2 separate regions of the Homo sapiens genome follow, and region 1 is linked to region 2. Evidence: promoter capture Hi-C in human tissues and cell types (Jung and others, 2019). All regions are on one chromosome and are shown on one strand. Each heading gives the region's core, a stretch centred on a gene start or on the middle of the fragment in contact. The rest is flanking DNA. Distances are from core to core; before and after follow the strand shown.

Region 1 (5,483 bases), core at 2,462-4,961, 51 kb after region 2:
AATAAAGCAGTGATGAAAGCAAATAATATAATGATAATTCTGCACCATGGTGCCATGCCTGGGGCACGTGAATATCTTGAGCTACATGCTAGAAATTTATCTCCTCATTTCCTGGTCCCTAATCTTTGTCCCCATTCAGCAGAAAGTAGCCACAGCCGTCTGCGTTCCTGTACCCCCCAGGACTGAGAAGTGACAAAAGACAGGAGGAATTGAGACCGAGCAGGACCCCTCTAAGGGTCCTGCAGGGATCTCCTCCCCACCCCCTCCAAAGCATGGAAATAAAGGAAAATCTTGAGTTCCTTCAAGGGAAATTCCAGGCACCTAGCTAGCTCTGAGAAGTAAATGAGCAACTTGATAAGCAAGAAGGTAATAGTAGCTTAAAACCATAGCCAAGGAAGTTAGAGTCACAAGATGTTCCTTGTAGAATCTAAAGATAACTTCTTAACATATGTCCCTGAGTTGTTTTTCAGAAACCCCCACCAAATGGATCCACTGGAGCATAGACCTCAGATAAGGGGGAATTGAGGACTGAATTCTGACTGCCATTCTTAGTTCTAAAGTTCTTCCTGAGAATCCTGGAGGAAGCCATGCGAAAAAGCCAGGGCTAACATTTTTTTCAGCTGATCCTAAATTTTTAGACAAAGCTTTGCTTCCGTAGCCAACTGCAAATCAGAAAATCTTTGCATCTACCTATGACCTGTAAGCCCCTGGTTTGAGATGTCCCACCTTTTTAGATCAAACCAATGTGTAGTCTATGTGTATTGATTCACGAGTTTGCCTATAACCTCTGCCTTCTCATCTTTAAACCCCCTTACTTGCAAGCCATCGGGGAGGTCAGGTCTTAAGCATGAGCTGCCTGATTCCGCTTACTTGGTTCCCTGAAAATTAACACCCTCCTTTCTTCCACTGCAAACCTCAGTGTGAATGTTTGACTTTACTGCACCAGGCAAGCGGACCCCACTTCAGTTCTGTAACAGGACTCTCTGTTTCACAACTATAACCCCATGCCTGGCACATACAAGGTGCTCAATGTTTGCTTGTTGACTGGCTGATTCATTGCATCTTACATGTTCTCTTTTTTAATATTCACAACGCTCTTCGATACAATAGGTGCCAGTAGGGGACATGCTGATGAGACAATTCAAGCACATGGTCAGAATAAGTTCTGGTTAATGTGGCAGCACAAGAGAAGAACACACTGTCTGATTCATTTGGAAATCAGGGATGGTGTTTAAGGAAGGGGAGCAAGGGACTATTGAATAACAGCAGCTGTTGAGTGTTATGTGCCTAACACTGGCTGGGCACATTGCCAGGTGGTTTATGCATATTGTCTGTAGCTCTCACCACAACACTGCAAGGTGGATGTTTCCTCAGTTTACATTTGAGGAAAATGAGGCTCGAAGAGCCCAAATAACTTGTTTTAGACCAGTGGACTGAACTCTGTAAAACAGAATACCTGGAAAAAATATAGAAAGACAAAGTAGAAGACAAACTATCATATAGAAAGAAGTAGAATAAAGTTAAACCCCTAAACTTATGCAATTACCACGGCCAAACACTGTTGGCAAGCAGCAAGGTGTAACAAATAGAATATAGATTCCGGAGTTGGACAAACTTGTATTTGAATCCCAGATTCACCATTTCCTCATTGTAAAATTCTGGGTAAGTCATTTAACTTTTTTAGCTTCAATGTTCTCATCCATAACGTGATAAGTACTTTAAGGGTAAGTATTAAATAAAATGAGATGACTTGCATAATTATTGATACTCAATAAATGCTGTTTCCCTTTCTTAATCTGTCAGTCAAGGCAACAGAAGAGACAAAGAATTACGCAATTATTATTATGTCTAAATATTGTTTTAATGGTTCTCAAAGTGTTGCCCCTGGGCCAGCAGCGTCACCTGGGAACTTGTTAGGCATGCAAATGACCAGGTTCCACCTCACACCGACTGTATCAGAGACCCTGGGGCTGGAACCCAGCAGTCTTTTTCCAGGAGCCCCCCAGGTGATGGTGTGTGCACCAAAGCTTGAGAACCGTGGCTGTGGTTCATTATCCTCCTGGTCTCTGCAACACTGCAGTGGAGGGAACTGAGAAGCCGAGTAGGTTGGCAAGATCACAAGGTTATTCACTGGAGACATCATTCAAATGCGGATCTCAGGCAAGTAGTGCTCTTCTTACTCGGAAAAAGAAAACCAATAGAGGCAGGTGCCAGTGACTCATGCCTGTAATCCCAGCACTTTGGGAGGCTGGGGCAGGTGGATCATCTGAGCTCAGGAGTTCAAGACCAGCCTGAGCAACATGACGAAACCCTGTCTCTACCAAAAATATAAAAAATTAGCCAGGCGTGGGGGCACACACCTGTAGTCCCAGCTACTCGGGAGGCTGAGGTGAGAGGATCACTTGAGCCTGAGAGGCGAGGGTTGCAGTGAACCGAGGTCATGCTACTGCACTCAAAGCTGGGTGACAGAGTGAGACCCTGTCTCAGAAAAAAAAAAAGAAAAGAAAAAAAGAAAAAAAATAGAACACAGACTTTGTCATTTTTCTGTTGGAAATATGGAACTCTTTGTACCTCTGTGAGCCTCATTGGTGGAACTTAGAGACTCTCATAAGGCAGTCTCTCTGTTTATATGTCTTTTCCCTACCTGAATCTACAATATAAGTACTCAATACATCTTCTGCTCACTCATTGTGAGGAAACATAGGGTAATATATATAAAAACATATTAAATAATCCTGAAAAAAGAATCATGCTCAAAGTAAATGCGCATATCTGTTATCAAGGAAACTCTCTTAATAGAGCCCCCCAGGTATCTTTCAAGGACTAGAGCAAGTTAGCAAGTTAGCACTTGCAGGTAAACAGCTGTGGAAGGAGAGTGATGCTGGGGCCTCAGTCATGTGCACCTGCCATAGGCTCAGTGTCATGGCCGTAAAAGCACAGCTTGATGTGTGCCCAAGCGAGGTGTTTGGCAGGTTGGGGTTGGGAGGAACTGCTATGGGCAAAATCACAAATATTGTCTCAGACAGCTGTGTGCAGGTAAACTGGCTGTGGTGGGAACGGGGTACCCTGGTTGTTTTGTTTTGTTTTTTGAGACAGAGTCTTGCACTGTCGTTGAGGCTGGAGTGCAGTGGCGTGATCTCAGCTCACTACAACCTCTGCCTCTCGGGTTCAAGCGATTCTCCTGCCTTAGCCTCCTGAGTAGCTGAGATTACAGGCACGTGCCACCACACCCAACTAACTTTTGTATTTTTAGTAGAGACAGGATTTCACTATGTTGGTCAGGATGGTCTCGAACTCCTAACCTTGTGATCTGGGGTGCCCTGATTTGTAGCATTTATTGATTTCCATGGTGAATACTCTCACTATGGGAGATTTCAAGCTACCAATGGTTTAACAATCTGCTTGCAAAGTTCCTGAATATTGAACAATCTGCTCTAGGGGTGCCAGTGTGGGCTGGCCTCAGAATACCCCTGTGGCATCAACTATCAGTGGGCCCGATTTTGACTAGCAGGTGGCACAGCAAAAGCCGTTTAACAATGCTGAGTGTTCTTCAATCTGCCTGTGTCCTGTTTAGTATCTATTGTCTTAAATATCTGGAAAATGCTAATGAAAATAAGAGGTAAGAAAAAAATCACTGAGGAACTTTAAAAAAAAAATCAGTACCAAAGCTATACTTACAGATTCTGATTTAATTGGTGTTGGGTGGGACCTGGCATCAGCTCTTAAAGCCCCTCTCCCAGGTGATTCTAGTGTGTAGCCAGGGATAAATAATTGCAGATAATGTGGGTTAGCAAGGGGCAGGCCACCCCTAAACCTAGAGTCTATTGCCATAGTGCCCCATACGAGAAAGAATGTGTTATCCCCACCTTGGATATCTTTTCCAGCTTTATTGAGGTTTACTTGACAAATACAAGTTGTACATATTTAAGATGTACGGTGTGATGTTTTGATGTACGTATACATTGTGAAATGATTACCACTATGAAGCTAATTAACACATCCCTCACTTCACATAGTTACCCGTGTGTGTGTGTTTCCGGAGATATATTCTCTCAGCAAATTTCATTATTATATTGTAATTATTCCAAAGCTGTTTTATGTATGTTTGACCTCCCCAAATAAGGGAAGCTCCTCAGGGACAGGGTCAGAGCCTCCTGTTAGAACATAGCAGGGTTGTGTGGATGGCGTGTCCTCAGTAGATGCTACATGCTCTGGGCTTATCTTCAAACACCTCGCCACACTGGAAGGATCACAGCCTTCTGTAGACATTACATGACAATCCTCAGAAGGAAAAGGGAGGACTGGGGACACCCCCACCATCACCAGACTGGGGACACAGAGGCTTCCCCATTAACAATAATAACTCAAAATGCCCTGAGCTGTGTCCCACATGCTCGTACTTCTGTGAGTTCCCTGGAGGTATTTCATGTATGCCTGTGCTTGAGTCCTCTCCTGCTGAACCCTGGTTTCTCTAGGGACTTGGCACAGAGCACCCCATGGCCACCAGATACCACCATCTTCCATCATATCCTGACCCTGGGGCCCTTGAAATAGCAAAGCTGCAGGGCTTTCTGGTGCAAAGTGGAAGAGAGGGGATCCCTGAACAGTCCACGGAAGCTGGGTAGGTGTGTGAATTTGAGTGAGAGGTCATCAGAGTCGCTGCCCTCTTTCCCTGCCTCAGTCATTCTGAAGGGCCCCTTCTTGTCCATTCATCAACCGTGGCTCCTTCTTTGCTTAGAATGAGTTCTCTGAGGGGAGGTTCCACCATTAATACAAATCAGGTCTGGAAAGCCATCCCATCGGTTTTCCAGACATGCCTGAGCCTTGGGTTGGATTCAAGCTGAGATCACCCCTCAAGTCACAGCAGATACACCAGTGGCAGCAGTCGGCACCTACAGGACAAGCAAGGTGCATCCAGAATCTAAAGATAAGGCTCCCCTGTCAGAGGAAAACCCATACAAGTGAACACTTCATAGATGAAACTGGCCATCTGTAGAAGTGATCTGCCTGATGAGGCAGAAAGGAAAGGGGAGAAAACTAACATTTTCTGAGCACAATTTTCTAGATTTTTTATATATTTTGGCACTGAGTGCTCACAATTCCCTTAGGTAGGTAAAATTATTCCCATTTTATAGATCAAGAAACAGAAATTCAAAGAGATCATGTGGCTGACTTTAATCTCAGGTATATTTGGTGCCACTGATCTATTTTCTGCCCCTCTAGGTTTGCCTTTTCTGGAATGTCAAATAAATGGAATCACACAGTATGTAGCCTATTACTTCTGTAGGTATTTTTGCTTCTTTCACTTAGCGGAAGGCATTTGAAAACAACCCATGTTTTTGTGTGTATCCATGGTCGATTTCTTTCTACCGCTAGGTAGTATTTCATTGTTTGGGTGTGCCACAGTTTGTTTATACATTCCTCAACTAACAGAGATTTGGGTAGCTTCCAGTTTGGGCAATTACAAGTAACTATAAACTATA
Region 2 (6,058 bases), core at 3,090-5,589:
CACCTGTAATAGCACTTTGGGAGGCCAAGGCAGGAGAATTGCTTGAGGTCAGGGGTTCGAGACCAGCCTGGCCAATATGGTGAAACACCGTCTCTACTAAAAATACAAAAATTAACCAGGCGTGGTGGCACATGCCTGTAGTCCCAGCTACTCAGGAGGCTGAGGTGGGAGAATCGCTTGAACCTGGCAGGTGGAGGTTGCAGTGCAGTGAGCTGAAATGGAGCCACTACACTGAAGTCTGGGCAACAGAGTGAGACCCTGTCTAAAAATAATAATAATAAAAAATAAAAATAGAAAAGAAAAAAATAGGGGATGAGTTGGGTCTGGATGAGCTGAGGGAGGAATGTGCTATGCACAGGCACTGGGGAGCTGAGGAAGGCTGGGATGGGCAGGTGGGATGGGCTCTCCATTTGGGTAGGGTGCTCGCTCAGAACTCTGTGGAAGCTTTAATGTGGTGACAGGCAATGGGGAGCCACTGCAGGCTCTAGAATAGGGGCGTGACTTGCTAGAAGTCCAGTTGGCAAGAGAGAGCTCAGAGCCAGTGTGGGGAGCTGGAGTCAGGGAGGTCAGCTGGCAGCGGCTGCAATGATGAGATGAAGAGAAGGAAGGGGCGAAGCCACTGCCCCTCTACAGCCCTTAGAATCTGGACATCTAGAGGCCATCAACTCTGTGTTCTCACCTCTTGGTCTCTTAGCCACCTCAGTTGCCATAGCCCAGACTGCCTGGTTTCAAAGTCCTCTCCTCCAATTCACCTACCACACCACAGCTAGACTGTCCTGCTCAAGAACCTACAATGGCTCCCTACTGCCAGGGAGAGCGAGTCCAAATCTCCTACCCTGCATTCAAGCCCTTGTGCTCTGGCCTGGCTTTGCCTATCCCAGCCCCCAGCCCACTCCTGGCCAAGCACAGTCAGGCTCATTTCTGCCTCTGAGCCTCTGCTCACCTCTCCCCTCTTCCTGAATGTCCTTGCTACTCCTCTGCACCTGTCTACATTCTACCCATACTTCAAAGGCCACAGAGTCCACCTGACTTCTGTGAAGCCCCTAGAGGGAACTCTGTTCAATTTTGCTCCATCACCTCCTAACTGCCAACACCACCGCTAATGATAGCAATGCCAACAGTGCCATTTGCTGAGCACTTACTCCAGGCCAGGCCCTGTGCTAAGTTGCTCACATGGGAAAGCTCATTTACTCCTTCCTCCAACTCCAGGAAATCACCATTGTTACCCTCTTCTTATAGAGGAGGAAATTGAGGCTCAGAGGCTAGGGGACTTGCCAAAGGTTACAGGGCTACTGAGTGGCAAAGCCACTTGCTCATCCCCAAGCCCATCCTCTTAGCCACTGGCATTTTTTGCCGCCTCTGACAGATACACTCAGGGCCGTCATGCTGTACACATCCAGGGGGCGCCCTACCCTTTGTAGTCCATGGGAAAGGCTCCTCTGGGGCGGTGGGGTTGTGTGGCTATGTGGTGGTCTTGTGTAGATGGGGGCTTTGGTTTCAGTTGCACTATTGCGTTATTGCAGATTGCTTTGTCTTTCCACCTGAGCGAGCCTCAAGCCTGTCCCTTGACTTGTTCATTAACTGACTCATTCTCTTGGTTCTGCCCTGGGAGGAAGGATGGGCCCGGGGAGGAGGGACATGAAGAATCCAAATCTGGGCTCAAGTTCCAACTCTGTAAACTCTGTAATTACCGGTCATTCAGGCTGGGGGAAGTCATAATCCTATTAGAGCTTCTATTTCCTTATCTGTGAAATGAGTCAATCATATGAACTTCAAAGAGCCGCCACAGAGATCAGTTGAGATGCAAAGTCTGTCAAGTGGCCTGTGTAGCTCTGGCAAGGGCAGGTACTCAGTAGATGGTGATGAACCCTGATGTGGACTAAGTGTCTGTTCTGTGTGGGCACAGTGCTGAGTGCTGTAGATCTCATTTCATCCTCAGCACACTATGGTGAGGGCCCCCTTGGGTTCCTCATACCACAGGTGAGCACTAAGTTTCAGAGAGGTTAACTTACCCTGCGTCACACAGCTGGCTAGAGGCAGCACCCGGCAACTAGTGCGGCCAGCACAGGGCTTGGAACTAGTTTGTCTAACATCCTGATGCCCTTCACCAGGATGATATTCAAAGCATCTAGCAAGCGGTGAATTGGAATGGACGCAGGCCAGGATGCTGACCCTCCACCCCCACCCCTCCGCCATGGTGCCCACCACGAGGCTCTACTGCCTCCCATTCTCAGGCCAAGCTCCTTCCCATATTCTTCCCCAAAGATTCCAAGCTTCTTCAGGGCCAGCCCCGCACCATGTCCCTTCCTTCTTCACATACCGTCAGGCACAGCGAGGTGCCCAATAATCAGCGGCTGCATTGAATTCCAACAGGGACTTTCAAGAAGCAATGAGGAGATCAGACCTCAGGTGAGAGAGGAGGAGCAGAGAGAGGAATTCTGAGTCATCGGTGCCGACAGGGCATGGGTGCCCAAGGAGACAAGCAGGAGGTTCCCCCAGGGAAAACTCACCTGGAGGTGGCACAGGGGGCTTTCTCCACATTGTTGTTGATGTCTTTTTCCCCATTCATTGCATACTGGTGGAATTTGGTCTTGAACAGAAATTTCCAAGGACAGGCCATCTCTATGGCTTTACAAAGCAGGTCACTTATGTCACTTATCTGGATTTGAGCTCAGATGTTCTTCACTGTGGGGCTGAAGAAGGGAAGCAGAGGTGAGGGAAGGTTGAAGAAGAGTTTACAGAACAGGGCTTCTCAGTGGGGTTGGCTCACTGGGGAATCGATATGAACGCCAGCATGAGCCCCTTCATCAATGCTTTGCAACCTCTGTCTCTATTTCGGGGTTGGAATGGGGAGCCTTCGGACACAGACTTCAATTCTGTAAAGCCACCTAATAATCTTAAGGAAAAACAATGAACCCCCCCATCCCCATCGCCACTTAACAAGGACAAACTGTATGCACCATGAGCCTCCTTAGCGGGACCTGCTGGCCCACCAGACCCAGCCAGGCTTCATCACTGGCCACAGGCAGGGTGAGGAAGAGCCCGGAGGTCGTTGAAACAGGGGTGCCTTTGCCTGACCCTGAAAGACACTTCCCAGCAGCTCTCATTATCAACTGTAGTTTTAGGTCTATTACTGGGGAAAGCACTCAAGCTGTAGCTACCTTTCTTTTAAAGATTTTGCAGTTGTTGTTCTAACTCAGCATTATTACTTGCTCCTCTTTTATTATGTGGGGAGGAAATATTTGTGAAAAATGCACTCATCCCTCGAAATCTGAGATCATCTCCTTTGAAACAGACAAGAGGAAGATCAAAGAGGCAAAAACTCTGTCTTTAGAAGACAGTGTAGTGAATATAGTCCATGTAAGAATTTTAGGCCAAGTGCAGTGGCTCACGCCTGTAATCCCAGCATTTCGGGAGACCGAGGCAGGAGGATCGCTTGAGTCCAAGAGTTCGAGTTCAGCCTGGGCAACATAGGGAGACCTTGACTACAAAAAATTGAAAAATTAGCCAGGCAGGCATGGTGTCTTGTGCCTGTAGTCCCAGCTACTCGGGAGGCTGAGGCAGAAGGATTGCTTGAGGCTGGGCAGTCAAGGCTGTTTCCAAAAAAAAAAAAGAAAGAAAGGGAAGGGAAGGGAGGGGAAGGGAGGAAAGGACAGGAAGGAAAGGAAGGAAAGAGGGAAAGAAAGAAAAGAACTTATAGCCCCATAGACCTGGGTTCAAATCCTGGAATCCTAGCTCTACCAGTTATGTGTCCTGGATCAAGTTATTTAACTGAAACTCATTTATTCATCCATAAAATGGGTTTAATATATCCATCTTACCAGGATTTGTGGGGAGGTTACATGTTATAAGGACTGATAAGATAATCTCTGTTAAAAAAAATTCTTAGCAGATACAAACTCCCATTTTGAACTTTTCAGAAAGTTTTTCCTTGTCATGTAACAACCACAGCTAATATTTGCAGAAAAGAAATCTGACCAAGATGCCATGTTCAAATGACCAAACCTCATGTCGGCATTTTTTTACCTAGACTTTCCAACACCTTCTCTCTGTAGGCAGAAAATTCCCACAATTTTCTGAGCCTTCTCAAAGAGGAAGAAACAAAACCCTCTCAAAACAGCCGCTTCCCCAGAAATGAAGGCAACTCACCTTGCAGCTGGCTGCACTGCCTCCCCGGGGTAAGGACAGTCAAACCAGGAAGAGACCTGTGCCTTGAGAACTTCGGGACTGTCTAGAACTGCCCAGTCCCCTCATCAAAGGTGGCCGAGAGATTTTAAAGCAGGAATGAGGCTGAGTTCTCTGCGGCCGGAGCCTCAGTTTTCGACTCGCTACAAAGTTATGAACACACTGGCAGCCAAGAAGTATTTATACTCACCCCATGCCATCCAGAGAGTTGTTTTTGCATAAAGGTCTCTTTTTTTTTTTTTTTTTTTTGGTTTCCAAAGGGAGTGTCCCCAGCTTGTGTACAGTTAGCTAATTTATGACTGTGACTGCCAGGGCCTGTGGGTGACCTGATCTTGCTGTTACATCACTCTGTGTGGTGCCTCTTCACCCAACCCACCTCTTTCTGGTCCCAAGTCCAAGGTGGCAGTTCATCAGCAGGGTGGCTGCTAAGATAGAGGCACCACGGAGCCAGGTTTTATTTGGCCAAGCCACATGGCCTCACTTTCAGCATCTGGGAGATTTTTTCCTCAGCAGGGAGCTCTCTGGTTAATCCCTGTCCATCCTCTCACTTTTCCAGCTTGTGACAGGAGTCCAGGAAGCTGGGGGAATATTGACAGTATGGAACACACTGGAAAATGCCCAGGTTCCAGAAGGCCAGTGATATTAGATGATGCCATTATTCCAGACAGGCCTCTGAACTAGTCACTTGAGGTTTTTGGAAGGGAAAGGAAGGAAGGCTATTGGCACAGAGAGGCCTCTGAGATGTTGGTCTTACTAACACCTCATCCTTTAGCACTAGGTAAGCTTTGGTGGAATGGCAGGTAGGATTAAATTCCTTCCCTTATAATGGAAATGATCACTTCTTACATGAAAAAGTGGTAATTTCTTATAATTTCATTTCATTTATTTTATTTATTTATTTATTTTTGAGATGGAGTCTCATTCTGTCACCAAGACTGGAGCGGAGTGGCACGATCTCTGCTCATTGCAACTTCTGCCTCCCAGGCTCAAGCGATCCTCCCACCTCAGCCTCCTGAGTAGCTGGGACTACAGGCATGCACCACCACACCCAGCTAATATTTTTGTGTTTTTGGTAGAGACTGGGTTTCACCATGTTGTCCATGCTGGTCTCGAACTCTGAAGCTCAAGTGATCTGCCCACTTCAGCCTCTCAAAGTGCTAGGATTACAAGGGTTAGCCACCATGCCCGGCCTATAATTTCATTCCTTATAATGCCTGAAATACAGTATTCCCATACATATGCATTTTTCCATCATAAAAGTAAAATAACAACTACATTAGGGAGAAGTTGAGAAGCAAAGGGAAAAAAAGTCACCCTTGATCTCACCGTCCCAACACTTTGCTACCACTGTCCACTCATTTCCTTCTTGTCTTTCCCAAGTTAAATTCAGCATAATATATTAACTTTGTCAAAGATAAACTAAGAGCCACAAAAAAGACATGGATATCAGAGCTCAAGGATCTTTGTTGAGTGAATGTGTGGATGAATGAATGAAAAATAGGAGTAAACTGGAATGAGTTTTAACATATCAAAGCCATCTTCCCTTCAGGCTTCAGCTCAATGCTGCGGCTCAATGCTGCGGCTTAGAGCTCTGGCTTATGGAGCATCTGCCACGAAGAGCAATGCATTTTAGAAAGTGACAAGATGGCCGGGCGTGGTGGTTCATGCCGGTTCAGTTCAGGTAAACAGCACTCAGGGAAAGAGTCAGAATCCTGGCCTTAGGGAGTGCAAGGCCTAGAAAAATAAATGGATAATTATAGTACAGAGTGATATCTGTAGTGATGGAGGGATGGTATGGTGCTGATGTAGCTGGTTCTGCCTTGTTCAAGGAAAGTTTACAAGGGAGAGGACACCAGGGCAGGGTTTTGAGGGA

What was found. The method cuts DNA at HindIII sites, captures the fragments that hold promoters and counts their contacts. A contact is called where the count stands out against the background at its distance.
Region 1: a contact is called between a fragment that was not itself captured here and the fragment with the promoter of NOS2 in region 2, in 1 of the 25 tissues and cell types used here (adrenal gland).

Annotation. Positions count from the first base shown.
Region 1 is chr17:27,847,860-27,853,342 of GRCh38, forward strand. No RefSeq gene overlaps it. Among named protein-coding and RNA genes, the nearest start is that of LYRM9, 43 kb to the right of the region's middle. The HindIII fragment of the contact is 4,752 bases long and covers 1,336-5,483 here.
Region 2 is chr17:27,796,190-27,802,247 of GRCh38, forward strand. NOS2 (nitric oxide synthase 2) reads right to left here and starts at 4,340. Exons shown (of 27, transcript NM_000625.4): 1 at 4,150-4,340; 2 at 2,511-2,693. The coding sequence starts at 2,620. RefSeq lists promoters at 4,173-6,058, 4,253-5,370, 4,253-4,545, 4,304-6,058, an enhancer at 4,514-4,542 and a cis regulatory region at 4,855-4,877. The HindIII fragment of the contact is 5,928 bases long and covers 1,359-6,058 here.